Regions from separate parts of the Homo sapiens genome. Here regions 1 and 3 are each linked to region 2. Evidence: promoter capture Hi-C in human tissues and cell types (Jung and others, 2019). All regions are on one chromosome and are shown on one strand. Each heading gives the region's core, a stretch centred on a gene start or on the middle of the fragment in contact. The rest is flanking DNA. Distances are from core to core; before and after follow the strand shown.

Region 1 (4,354 bases), core at 1,466-3,965, 460 kb after region 2:
GTCTCTACTAAAAATACAAAAATTAGCTGTGCCTGGTGGCCCACGCCTGTAATCCCAGCTACTTGGGAGGCTGAGGCACGAGAATCGTTTGAGCCCAAGAGGTGGATGTTGCAGTGAGCCGAGATCACTCCACTGCACTCCAGCCTGGGTGACAGAGCAAGACTCTGTCTCAAAATAAATAAACAAATAATTTTTTTAAAAAAGGACATTTCAAAATGTTCTATAGCTTGGGAAGTTTGAATATGGAGTAGGTATTAGATGATATTGGGAATTATTGTTCATTTTATTAGGTGTACTAAATGTCCTTGTTTTAGGTGAAGCATTATGTCTGATTTTCTTTAAAATAGTTTGCCAGCAAAACATGAGCAGAGAAATGAATCATGGCAAAGTGTTCATTATTAAGTCAAGGTAATGTTTTTGTTATGGTTGTGTTTTTACTTTTCGGAATATTTTGAAATTGTCCTAATACAAAGTTTGTTAAAAGTGATGGGTTAGTGGTAAACTGAGCAAAATGATTTGCACTGAATAGGCAGGAATATAAAAATATGGACAACTCCACTGAAACTCCTCCCAACTCTGCCACAGAATCGGACATAGGCAAAATGGCACCTTGGCTGCTGAAGGTTTTGTGAAGTAGCCAATCTCCCTAATGGGAAAAATCAGAATACAACCTCAAAAAGCTCATGCATGGAGGAGGAGGGGCCACCTTCTTCTCACTCCACATGGCTGGACGAGGAGTTGAGGACAGAGTGTGTGGATTATCCATCTGCTGAGAACTGAGACACCAGAGCTGGGCGTCAGGATGACAGCACAGTGAGAGGCCCAGGACCCTCGATACCCCATCCCCAGCATCACCACAGCTCCTGGCTCACGTCGAATGTTCCACCTGGGTGGACTTCTCAAGGAGATGCTTGCTATGATCAGAATGTTTGTGTCCTCACCCCCAAATTCATGTTGAAACTAAAAGCCAAAGCAAAAGTATTAAGAGGTAGGGCCTTTGGGAGGTCATGAGGCTGGAGACTTCGCCAGTGAAATTCGTGCCCTTATCAAAGAGGCCCCAGAAAGCTGCCTCACCCCTTCTACCATGTGAGGACACAGGGAGAAGACGTCCATCTGTGAAGGAAGCTGGTCCTTGCCAGACCCTGAATCTGCCAGCACCCTGGTCATGGACTTCCCAGCTTCCAGACTGTGAGAAATGTCTGTTGCTTCTAAGCCATTCAGTCTAAGGTATTTTGTTACCGCAGCCCAAATAGACAAACACAGTGTTCCTTAAAAACTGCCAGGCACAGCGGCTCACGCCTGTAATCCCAACACTTTGGGAGGCTGAGGTGGGTGGATCACCCGAGGTTAGGAGTTCAAGACCAGCCTGGCCAACATGGTGAAACCCCGCCTCTACTAAAAATACAAAAATTAGCTGGGCGTGGTGGCATGTGCCTGTAGTCCCAGCTACTCAGGAGGCTGAGGCAGGAGAATCGCTTGAAGCTGGGAGGCAGAGGTTGCAGTGAGCCAAGATCACACCATTGCACTTCAACCTGGGTGACAGTGAGACTCTATCTCAAAAAACAAAAACAAACAAACAAAAAAACACTGCATCCCAGGCTGGGTGCAGCAGCTCATGCCTCTAATCCCAGCCCTTTGGGAGGCCGAGGCGGCAGATCACTTGAGGTCAGGAGTTACTTGGGAGGCTGAGGCAGGAGAATCACTTGAACTTGGGAGGCAGAGGTTGCAGTGAGCCGAGATCGGGCCATTGCACTCTAGTCTGGGCGACAGAGTGAGACTCTGTCTCAAAAAAAACAAAAAACAACAACAAAAAAAACTCTGCACCCCAGATGCTAGAAATATTCCATAGCCGAATGCGGTGGTAGTTATGAGTGTGTAGACAAATGGAGACATCCATAGAGCTCTCCACTTAAGATTTGTGTACTTTACTCTTTACTGAAATTAGGTACGTCTTAGTTTTTTTAAAAAAAATTCCTTCCACCAAAAAAAAAAAAAAAAAAAAAAAGAAGAAGAAAAAATGCATCCCAGTGAGCTGGGGAGGAAAGAGTGAAATTGTAGCTGCTTATCTGGGAAGCTTCAGAAATAAAACATTTTGGAACGACCACCCCGAGGTAGAAGACGAGGATTTGGAAATACACTTTTAAAATAAAGTGATGGGAGGCTGGGTGCAGTGCTTCACACCTGTAATCCCATCACTTTGGGAGGCTGAGTCGGGTGGATCACCTGAGGTCAGGAGTTTGAGACCAGCCTAGCCAACAAGATGAAACCCCATCTGTACTAAAAATACAAAAATTAGCCAGGCATGGTGGCATGCGCCTATAATCCCAGCTACTTGGGAGGCTGAGGCATGAGAACCCAGGAGATGGAGGTCGCAGTGAGCCAAGATCATGCCACTGCACTCCAGCCTGGGTGACAGAGCAAGACTCTGTCTCAAAAATAAAAATAAAATAAAGTGGTGGGAAAGAGAGACGTTTAGTATCTCAGCCACACTAAACCTTTAAGCCTCTGTGCACACAGCCAGTCATTTCTTGATCTCTTTGTTAATATAACTTTAGTATCAGGCAGTTTGTTGTACAAAGTCCTGCAGTTCTTCAAGTAATAAACTCACATCAAAACACTGTTTCCGAGCATTAAAAAAATATATAGCATTGATTTAAAAAATGAATGAACTGAACAAAGGTCTCCCACTAATGACCCTCGTGGGATATTTGAGAGGGTTTTGGAGCCAGCAGAGGCCAAACTAGAGAGTGGGGCGGGGTGGGGGCGGGGACGGTAGTCAAAAACGTCAGCGCAAGCCCAGGAAGTACCTCGAAACCTCATCTTCCTGCCCGAAGATGAACTGCCTGAACTGTGCGGGGCAGAAAGGATGGGAGCAGCTGCCCCACCTTCCTGCCCAGTCCCAGCCTCTGGGGAGAGGGTCTCCCCAGGGCACCCTTCTGGGAGAGACAAGGAGAAAAGTTGGTGGGAGGGGACGGTCTGACCAGGATGGGTGCCCAGGGCCTTGGAGGGTCCTCCCGTGCTGCAGGGACCCGCAAGAACCCCGGGAGCTGCCTCCCTCCACAGCTCACCAGCTCCCCCGTGAGCTCAAGCCAGGAATTTCAGGCAGGCTCTCGGGGGTCCCCAGACTTCCTTCTACTCCAAGGAGCCTGGGGAGCCCGGGACCTCCCAGAAAAGCATGTGGGCAGCTCTGCCCTAGGAGACCATGGTTCTTGTCAAGAAAAAGTCACCGAAGTCCAAGAGGCTCCTCCAAAGAATGTCTACTGAATTCCCTTCCCCTTCCTTCGGACACAAAATGTCTGGAGAGGCAACAACCTGGTTCCAGGTTGGAAATGGAGCCATATTACGCTGCTGGGGCACCCACCACTCAGATCTCCCTCTCACTTCTCTGGCTTCCCCCTGCATGTCCCCTTCTGGGCCCAAATCCTCTCCTGAGAGCCCCCCCACCCCTGGTTTCGAGCCTGCAATCATTTGAATGACATTCAGGTCCAGCTGGCTGCCCGTCGATCACGACTCGAACGCGGGGTAACATCGTGTGCATGTGTGTGCGGGGGACTGGGGGGACAGTGAAAGAGTCCCAGGCAAGGATCCAGGAGTCAGACCCGGCCGGGATCTGCTACCCTTCCCTGCGCACCTTAGGCAGACCACACGACCTATCCCTGGTTTGGTGGCCTCATAATAATCACCAAGGTTTATTAAGCCGCTGTGCGCAAGGCACTGTGCTGCGCACATTGCATGTATTATCTCATTGGATTTTATATAGTGCTAGCGTCTGAATGTTTGTGCCGCCCCCGACCCCCGCCCCAAATTCACATGTTGAAACCGAGTCCCCAGTGTGATGATATCAAGAGGCAGGGCCGGCTGGGGCACAGTGGCTCACACCTGTAATCCCAGCACTTTGGGAGGCCAAGGCGGGCGGATCACTTGAGGTCAGGAGTTCGAGACCACCCTGGCCAACATGGCAAAACCTCCTCTCTACCAAAAATACAAAAATTAGCCAGGCGTGGTGGCGCATGCCTGTAATCCCAGCTACTCAGGAGGCTGAGGCAGGAGAATCGCTTGAACCCAGGAGGCAGAGGTTGCAGTGAGCCCATATCATGCCACTGCACTCCAGCTTGGGTGACAGAGCGAGACTCCATCTCAAAAAAAAAAAGAGGCAGGGCCTTTCGCGGGTGATTAGGTCATGAAGGCTCTGGGTCGGCACCTGAATGAATGGGAATCAGTGCTCAGAGACCCTAGGGAACTTGCTTGCCCTTTCCAGCTGAGCATGTGCCCAGCATGTGAGGACATAAAAGGCACCATGGATGAGAAACAGGCTCTCACCAAACACCTCATCTGTCAGTGTCTTTAATCTTGG
Region 2 (3,850 bases), core at 870-3,369:
AGGCCAGGAGTTCAAGACCAGCCTGGGCAACATAGCGAGACCCCCATCTATTAAAAAAGAAAAGAAAAAGGCAAGAAAAGATCGAACAGAATGATCCCAAAGATCCCTTCCCATGCTGACATTCTGATTCCCTCATTCATTCATTCTAATATTAACCAATGCCAGCACTAGGTTCTGGGCATCCCCTGCTGAGCCATTCTAAACCTGCTGGGCACAGCCAAGACCTGTGAGTGTGGCCTCAGGCCTAGTGAGGGCTCATTGTTTCCACAGCCACTGCATGGTCCAGAGTGAGGAAGGAAAGCCCCATCTGCCCCATGAAGCCCACCCTGCCAGGGCCCACCTGCCAGGGGAGGCATTTTCCTGATCCCAGTTCTAGGTTTCATCCTAGAAGAGCCCTCAGTATCTAAAGCCTTTCCTACTTTCAATTTTTAAAAAAGTTGGGAAGTGTAAGACCACCTGCCATCTTCCTAATCAAAACTCATCTTCTGGCTCTTATTCTCCATGGCTTTTACACAACATGTTTTATTCATTTCAAAGTATTTAATTATAATGTTGAGGCCAGGTGTGGTGGCTCATGTCTGTAATCCCAGCACTTTGGGAGGCCAAGGCAGGAAGATCGCTTGAGGCCAGGTGTTCAAGACCAGCCTAGGCAACATAGTGAGACCCTGTCTCAAGAAAAAAAAAAAAGAAAAAAGAAAAATCAAGAAGAAAAAAGAAAGAGTGAGAAAGAAAGAAAGAGGCCAGACGCGGTGGCTCACGCCTGTAACACCAACACTTTGGGAGGCCAAGGCAGGCGGATCGCGAGGTCTGGAGTTCAAGACAAGCCTGGCCAACATAGTGAAACCCCGTCTCTACTAAAATACAAAAAATTAGCCCGGCATGGTGGCGGGCATCTGTAATCCCAGCTGCTTGGAAGGCTGAGGCAGGAGAATTGCTTGAACCCGGGATGCGGAAAGAAAAGAAAAAAAAAGAAAGAAAAGGAAGGAGGGAAAGAAGGAAGGAAGGAAGGAAGGAAAGAAGGAAGGAAAGAAGGAAGGAAGGAAGGAAGGAAGGAAGGAAGGAAGGAAGGAAGGAAGGAAGGAAGGAAGACAAAATATAACATTGAATACACGTTGTTTTTCAAACTGCACATACAACCCACATTTTGACTCAGGCCTCTGGGGCGAGGGGGTACACACACACACACACATCCCAGTCACTGTCCTAGGCTCTCCAGCCATGAGATTTTCCGGCCCAGCCCCAACCCCGACCTAAGTAACCGGCTATCGGCCACCCATTGGCTGAAGTCCCTGAGCACCTGTTGGGAGGAAGGCTGCTGCGTGCAGCCGGAAAGTCCTGCGTCCCTCCGCTCTTACCGCGGCAGGAACCACAGCCTCCCCGAACCTCAGGGTTTGTATGGATTTCGCCCAGGGGAAAGCGCTCCAACGCGCGGTGCAAACGGAAGCCACTGGCTGGTTGGGCGGCTGTGATGGGAGAGCTGCATCCTTCCAACGCGTCCAGCTTTTCATGCTGATGTTGGTGAGAAGGGGGTGGATAGCGGGGATTCTCAGGATTAGGGCCTAGGGCCATTAAAGGCTGGGAGGTGGGGGCGTAAACCTGTGGCCACCCTGACCCCTGTCCTCGGGGGGCCTCACCACCAGGCCGAGGAGACCCAGGCCTGGTCACCTGCTCCAAGCCCAGGCCCGGCGCTCGAATGCGGGCCCCAGCGGCCCTCCCTTCCCGGCCCTTCTCTCCCCTACTTTCTCCTCACCTCCCAGCTGCGCGGAGAACACGCCCCCTCCCCGTGTTCCCACCAATCAGCGTCCGGAGCGGCGCCCGAGGCGCCGGGGGGCTCTGGTCTGCAGCCAATGAGCGCCACGGCTCGAGGCGGCGCCTCGCCCGCCCCCTCCCGGAATGAAGGCCGCCCGACAGCTGGCGAGGCTGGCGCAGCGCGCGGGGCGCGGGAGCCGCGCGGGCTGGAGCGGAGCGCGCACACAGCCAGCCCGCCTCCGCTCCGCCTCCGTCCGGGGCGCGGGCGAGGTGGCCGGGGCGGGGGAACGCAGGGGGCAGGGCCGCGGCGGCGAGGCCGGGGGGCGGGGAGGAGTGGGCCCGATAAAAGGCGGCGCGGCGGCCCCACCCCGCGGCAGGCCGGCGGGCAGGCTCGGCGTGTCCCTTCCGTCCGGCCCGCGCCGGCGGCGGGGAGGCGGCGCGCGGCCCGCAGCCCGCCCATGGAGGCTTTCCCCTGGGCGCCCCGCTCGCCCCGCCGCGGCCGCGCCCCCCCGCCCATGGCGCTCGTGCCCAGCGCCCGCTACGTGAGCGCCCCGGGCCCGGCGCACCCGCAGCCCTTCAGCTCCTGGAACGACTACCTGGGGCTCGCCACGCTCATCACCAAAGCGGTGGACGGCGAGCCGCGCTTCGGCTGCGCCCGCGGTGGGAACGGCGGCGGCGGCTCCCCGCCCTCCTCCTCCTCGTCGTCCTGCTGCTCCCCCCACACGGGGGCCGGGCCTGGGGCGCTGGGGCCGGCGCTGGGGCCGCCCGACTACGACGAGGACGACGACGACGACAGCGACGAGCCGGGGTCCCGGGGCCGCTACCTGGGGAGCGCGCTGGAATTGCGCGCGCTGGAGCTGTGCGCGGGCCCCGCCGAGGCCGGGCTGCTGGAGGAGCGCTTCGCCGAGCTGAGCCCGTTCGCGGGTCGTGCCGCCGCCGTGCTGCTGGGCTGCGCGCCCGCCGCCGCCGCCGCCGCCACCACCACCAGCGAGGCGACGCCGCGCGAGGAGCGGGCCCCGGCGTGGGCGGCCGAGCCCCGGCTGCACGCGGCCTCCGGGGCGGCGGCCGCCCGGCTGCTGAAGCCCGAGCTGCAGGTGTGCGTGTTCTGCCGGAACAACAAGGAGGCGATGGCGCTCTACACCACCCATATCCTCAAGGGCCCCGACGGGCGAGTGCTGTGTCCCGTGCTGCGCCGCTACACGTGTCCCCTGTGCGGCGCCAGCGGCGACAACGCGCACACCATCAAGTACTGCCCGCTCTCCAAAGTGCCGCCGCCGCCCGCCCGCCCGCCGCCCCGCAGCGCCAGGGACGGCCCGCCTGGCAAGAAGCTGCGCTGAAGGCCCGGGCTCCCGGCCGCCCAGGGTCGCCGCCGCCCCTCGCACCGCTAGGTCTGCGCACCATCTCGCCCCCGCCGTGGGGAGGCGTGCGGCTCAGCGGTCGGCTCGACATGGGACGTCGTCCTGGTGGTTTTTGAAAAGCAGCCGACCGTGTGGAGTACTTCCGTGCTGAACGATTGGGACTAGACGCTGAAATCCCCATTTGTCTTCAGTTTCTAGTTTGCACATCCAGAACGGCGAAGGCTGGGTGTGTATTCCACTAACTGAAATATGGCAACTTAGAGGCGCTGTTTATTTACTGTATACGTCGACCTATTTTAGATGCGCATCAGTATGAAATTGTCTCAATCTTGGATGTTTCATTTTATGAATGGAGGCACTTTACTAGGTCTAGAATATTTTTTTAAAAGCCTCTGAACTGAGCTTAAAACTGGCGATTTTATGAAATGTCGGCAAAATGACTATTTTATTGTTTGAAGCGAGTTAATATTCTCAGTTGTCTTTAAAAATCAGTTACTCTAATTCCAGGTGAAGCAAGCCGCTGGTAGCATCACCCTTATGAGAAGTGAAGGTTTTGTAAACTTTCCAGTATTAATTTGGGCGGGTATTCCCCGCTTGTGGCTTGTTTCTGTCCTAGCTGGAGGTGTAAAATGCACAATGTGTAGCAGGTAGAATACAGCTCCTTATCGTTCTATGTACCAGGTATTTTATTACTGAACTAGCAACTAGCCTTTTCCACCTTTAAAAGTTGTGCCAAGTCATAA
Region 3 (4,416 bases), core at 33-2,532, 470 kb before region 2:
AAAAGTGTTGGAGTTTTTAAACATGGCTATGAATTCCATAGTAATCCCATTGGAGAGGTAGTCTACATCCCCAACCCTTGAATGCAGATGGGCTTGTGTCTTCTTCCACCTTCGATTGTGGTGAAAGATACTCCATAGAACTTCAAGGCAAGGTCATCAAAGACCATAAGGCTGCCACCTTGTTCCCTAGAGAGCTTGCTGTTGGATCCCTGAGCCACCTTGAGACTACCATACTGGAGAGACCACATGGAGGCTTCCTGCAGTCAAGAGTCCCACCTGATCCTGATGGCCCCCAGCAGCCTCAGGCCTGGCAAGGGAAAGTTGAGTGAAACCACCTTGGAAGTGGATCCTCAGTCCCAGCTGTTCCCACCTCTAGCTTGTCTCATCACTGCCCCCACCCCGCCCCAGCTGTTTGAATCATTCCCGCTGAGGTCCTGGCTGACACTGCAGAACAGAAAACAATGACCCCTCTGTTCCCTTCCAAAGTCTTGGTCCACAAAATCTGTGAGTGTAATAAAATTGTTGCTGCTCTGTGCCACTTGCTTTGGGATGGTTTGTTACATGGTAATAGGTAACTGGAACAAGCACCCCATCTGACTAGGCACTGGGCACTGTGCAGAGTCTCTGGCACTCTTTTCCACAGCCCTGTGGAAACACCATTATTATCCCCATCTTACAGATGAAGAAACTGAGGGCCAAAGTTTTGTAACAACTTGCCCAGGGCCACAGAGCTAGGCAAGTTACAAACCTAAGATTTTTTTCATCGAAGCAAATACTGACACCAGGGCATCCTGCTATATTTCATCTCCCCAAAAGCATTCATTCTCAGCTCAGATAAACCTTATTAGGTCTGGAGACACCATAGTGAGCAATGCAGATGTGGTTTCTGTCTTCATGGTACTTACAGTCTGGTGGGACTGACAGAAACCAAACAAACAGCACCAGCATCATCCAGACATTGGACCTAAGGCCGCTGCAGTCCCTTTTAGAGCAGAATTCCTGGGTTCTGGCAGCCTCTCTTCTTACTCTCCCAGTTAAGGGTCCAGACACACCACAGACCCCTCAGGCGTGGCTGGGCTCTGCCCCAGTGGGTATGGGTCAGATGAACTCATGAGGCTGTTTCTCCAAGAGTCCCCCAAAGAGGGAAAAGGGAGTGTATGAAACGTGGCTATTGTCACCTATAATTCAATCAATAGAAAAAGACAGGTTTCAAATAAATCCTAATGCCTCCCACTACCAAAAACATTTTTTAAAAAGATCTGGTAGGGCCTGAGAATTTGTTTGTCTCTGCTGGTCATGTGTTCTGAGCTCTTACGGCCAGGAGAGGGGCCCTAGCACCCCACCATTCACTTCCCTTTCTGACTTTGGAAGAGTAGCCTCGACCCAGAGATCTAAGAATCCAGCCCCGGTGTGGATGCCAGGACCCCTGCACATCCCCTCCCTACCCTCAGTGCCCCCTCCCCAACTCTCCTAATGGGGCATCTGTGGGAGGTTCGCATTCCAGGCTGCAGCTGCTGCCGCCTGGCAGAGCCCAGGCATCATTTCCATTCCACAGCTTTGGCCTGACATCTGGTGGAGGGACGGGAAGCGGTGCATTTAGTCAAATGACAAGGAGAGTGGCTGCAGCCCTGGGCAGGCAGGGTCTTCCTCCTACGGAAAGTGAGGGTAGCTTCCAGAGTCTCCTGGAAGCTTCCAGGAGTCAGGGGCTTTACCTTCAACCAGTAAGGGCCACCATGTCCTTCCCCTACAGGAGTCCACCAAAGCCTCAGAATGTGGCCATTTGGCAGCTAAGACCTTCCTCAAAGGGGGAAAGGGATCCCCAAGAAAGGTTCCGCAACTCCTCCCAGTCAGGCAGCTGGGAATGGAGGCAGCTGAGGCAATCCTGGGTATCTGACTTCAAAATCGTGGTCTTAAGGACTCTGTCACCTTGGCCCTCAGTGAGTCAACTGAGGTGTGTGGGGGAAGGAGTCTTCATGGGGACACTCAGGGCCGTGGCCATTCAACACCCTCGGATCACAGACATCTGCAGAGCGTGGGACCCAACCTGCCTGATGACAGATATCAAGGGCCCAAGTTCAATACGCACATTCAGGGCCCCGATTGCAGCCTCCGCATTTTAACCCATCCCAGGTGGTCACTGCCTTCAGGTGAACGTGGCTCTGCTGTTTCCTGCCCAGATGCGGTGGCCTAGCCTCATGAAAGGGGTGGAAGGTGGGTGAGGTTACCGATCCCTACTCACTAGGGGCCACTCTCCTCACACTAAAGAGCATACTCCAAGAAGGGGGCGGGGGTGCCCCCCCAGAGCCAGGGCCTGAGATGCAGCTGGAGGCATCCTCCCATCCTGGACATTCTGCAGGTGCCACGCGGTACCTTAAACCTTCTGTGGGTGGCTTCTCTGATCCAACATGGCCAAACCAGAACCCTTGATTTTCACACTGGACCTGCTATTCCTCCAGCTTTTCCATCTAAGTCACTACACCACCATCAACCAGCTACCCAGACCAAAACCACAGGGGACATCATGTTTGTGTTCCCTTTCCCTCCCCATGCCCCACATCCAATCCATTGACTAGTCCTGGCAGCGCTCCCACAAAACACATCCCAAGTTTGCCCCCTCAGTGTGGCACCTACCCCAGTCCCAGCCTTCACCTTTGTCCAATGGGACCTGGCAGAAGCCCCCTAACTCTTCCCCTCCCCTCCCACTTTCTCTCTTGCCCCCATGTCAATTGTCCAAGTGATCTTTTTTATTTTATTTTTATTTTATTTTCGAGACAGGGTCTCACCCTGCTGCTCAGGCTGGAGTGCAGTGGTGTGACCACTGCCCACTGCAGCCTCAACCTCCCAGGCTAAAGCAATCCTCCCCCCTCAGCCACCCAAGTTCCTGGGACCACAGGTGCACCACCATACCTGGCAATTTTTTTTTTGTAGAGATTGGATCTCACCATGTTGTCCAGGCAGGTCTTACACTCTTGGGCTCAAATAATCCTCCTGCCTTGGCCTCCAAAAGTGCTGGGATTATAGGTATAAACCACTATGCCTGGCCCCAGTAGATCCTTTTTTTTTTTTTTTTGAGACAGAGTCTCACTCTGTCACTCAGGCTGGAGTGCAATGGTGTGATCTCAGATCACTGCAACCTCCACCTCCCAGGTTCAGTTCACTGCTCTATCCCCAGGGCTTAGCGTCTGGCACTGGCTCCCAAATATGGAGTTGTTTACATAATTAATGATTCCTCTACTATGACCCAGGCTGTTCCCTGTTGTATTTTGTACAAATGAAACAGCTGACAAAGTGAGACACTGAGAGACTCTAACGCCCAAATGGGAGTGGCACAAGGCGATCGTGGGTGAGAGCAGGCATGTTTCCACACACTCCAGGGAGAAGGCTAGGGCCTGGGGTCCCCTTAATCTGGTCAGGTCTCCGCCAGCTGAAGGAGACCAAGATGCTGGCAGAGATGATGAGGTCACAACCAAGTCTGGGCCCTCAGCATGCCTGAGTCCTGCCCTGTGGTGGGGTGGCTGGTAGAGAAGCTGCAAAGCCACCCCACAGCTCGGGTGTTTGTGGGCTTTGCAGGGCTCCAGGGAACCTGGCTCTGCTGGCCAGTCTGCTCTCCTGGCTCGTGTGTGTAAGATGATGTGGTGAAAACGACTTCAGTTCCATGAACACAGGCTCAGGGTGGAGGGTCCTATTTGAAGCTGTGCCTTCTGAGTCTAGAGTGTGCAGTCAGGCACTGTATAGACAATGAGTTCTTCATTGATGGGACAAGCGCTGGAGTCAAAAACCTGAGCTGGACATCAGTTAAGGGGTAAAAACCGATTTTACTCAGGACTATTGCAATAGGGAGAATAGAGAACCGGGCTCAACTCCCACTTGCAAGGGCAGGTGGAGTGTTGGAGCAAAGGAGCAGCGTGGGGGTCAGCGGGTGGAAATGGCTAAGAGGAAACATTAGGGGCCAAGGGGATTCTTGCTGAAGACAGGCCAGGAAGATCAGACCTCCCCAGGGCAGTGGTAAAAGATGAGGAACCCGACCAGATATCGAGAGTGATCAGAAATGGAGAATGACAGCTGGGAGTGGAGGGGTCTAGCTAACCTGACTTAGCAGGACTCTTGCTAAAGCTGGATTTTACAAGAAGTGCACAGAGGTGGGCCTAAGAGAAGGTGCAGGAGGCTGACTGAAGTTTGGCCAAGCAAAGAATCTTTGTCATTGGCTAGGGGAAGTATTGGTCCTAAAATCCTGGATAGGAAGACAAACTGTAGGCCAGCAGTGACAGAGGAAATACCTATGTCAAGAAAGTTGGAAATGTGTCAGAGATTAATTTTAGCCCTGGGAATATGTCCGTCGGAAGAAACAGAATGGAAAATGGGGAATCTAGGAGAAACCACCGACATTCCTTCGTCAAGCATTTATGGCGTGCCTGC

The links. Contacts are between HindIII fragments. The study calls those that stand out against the background at their distance.
Region 1: a fragment that was not itself captured here is called in contact with the fragment with the promoter of NANOS1 in region 2 in 1 of the 25 tissues and cell types used here (spleen).
Region 3: a fragment that was not itself captured here is called in contact with the fragment with the promoter of NANOS1 in region 2 in 1 of the 25 tissues and cell types used here (dorsolateral prefrontal cortex).

Annotation. Positions count from the first base shown.
Region 1 is chr10:119,486,849-119,491,202 of GRCh38, forward strand. No RefSeq gene overlaps it. Among named protein-coding and RNA genes, the nearest start is that of RGS10, 54 kb to the right of the region's middle. The HindIII fragment of the contact is 4,157 bases long and covers 638-4,354 here.
Region 2 is chr10:119,027,595-119,031,444 of GRCh38, forward strand. It overlaps NANOS1 (nanos C2HC-type zinc finger 1), which reads left to right and starts at 2,120. Exons shown (of 1, transcript NM_199461.4): 1 at 2,120-3,850. The coding sequence starts at 2,208. The coding sequence ends at 3,086. LINC03036 (long intergenic non-protein coding RNA 3036) reads right to left here and starts at 1,977. Exons shown (of 4, transcript NR_186540.1): 1 at 1,751-1,977. RefSeq lists an enhancer at 1,397-1,897 and silencers at 1,722-2,191, 2,312-2,521, 2,892-3,191. The HindIII fragment of the contact is 19,263 bases long and covers 1-3,850 here.
Region 3 is chr10:118,563,270-118,567,685 of GRCh38, forward strand. No RefSeq gene overlaps it. Among named protein-coding and RNA genes, the nearest start is that of PRLHR, 30 kb to the right of the region's middle. The HindIII fragment of the contact is 6,270 bases long and covers 1-4,416 here.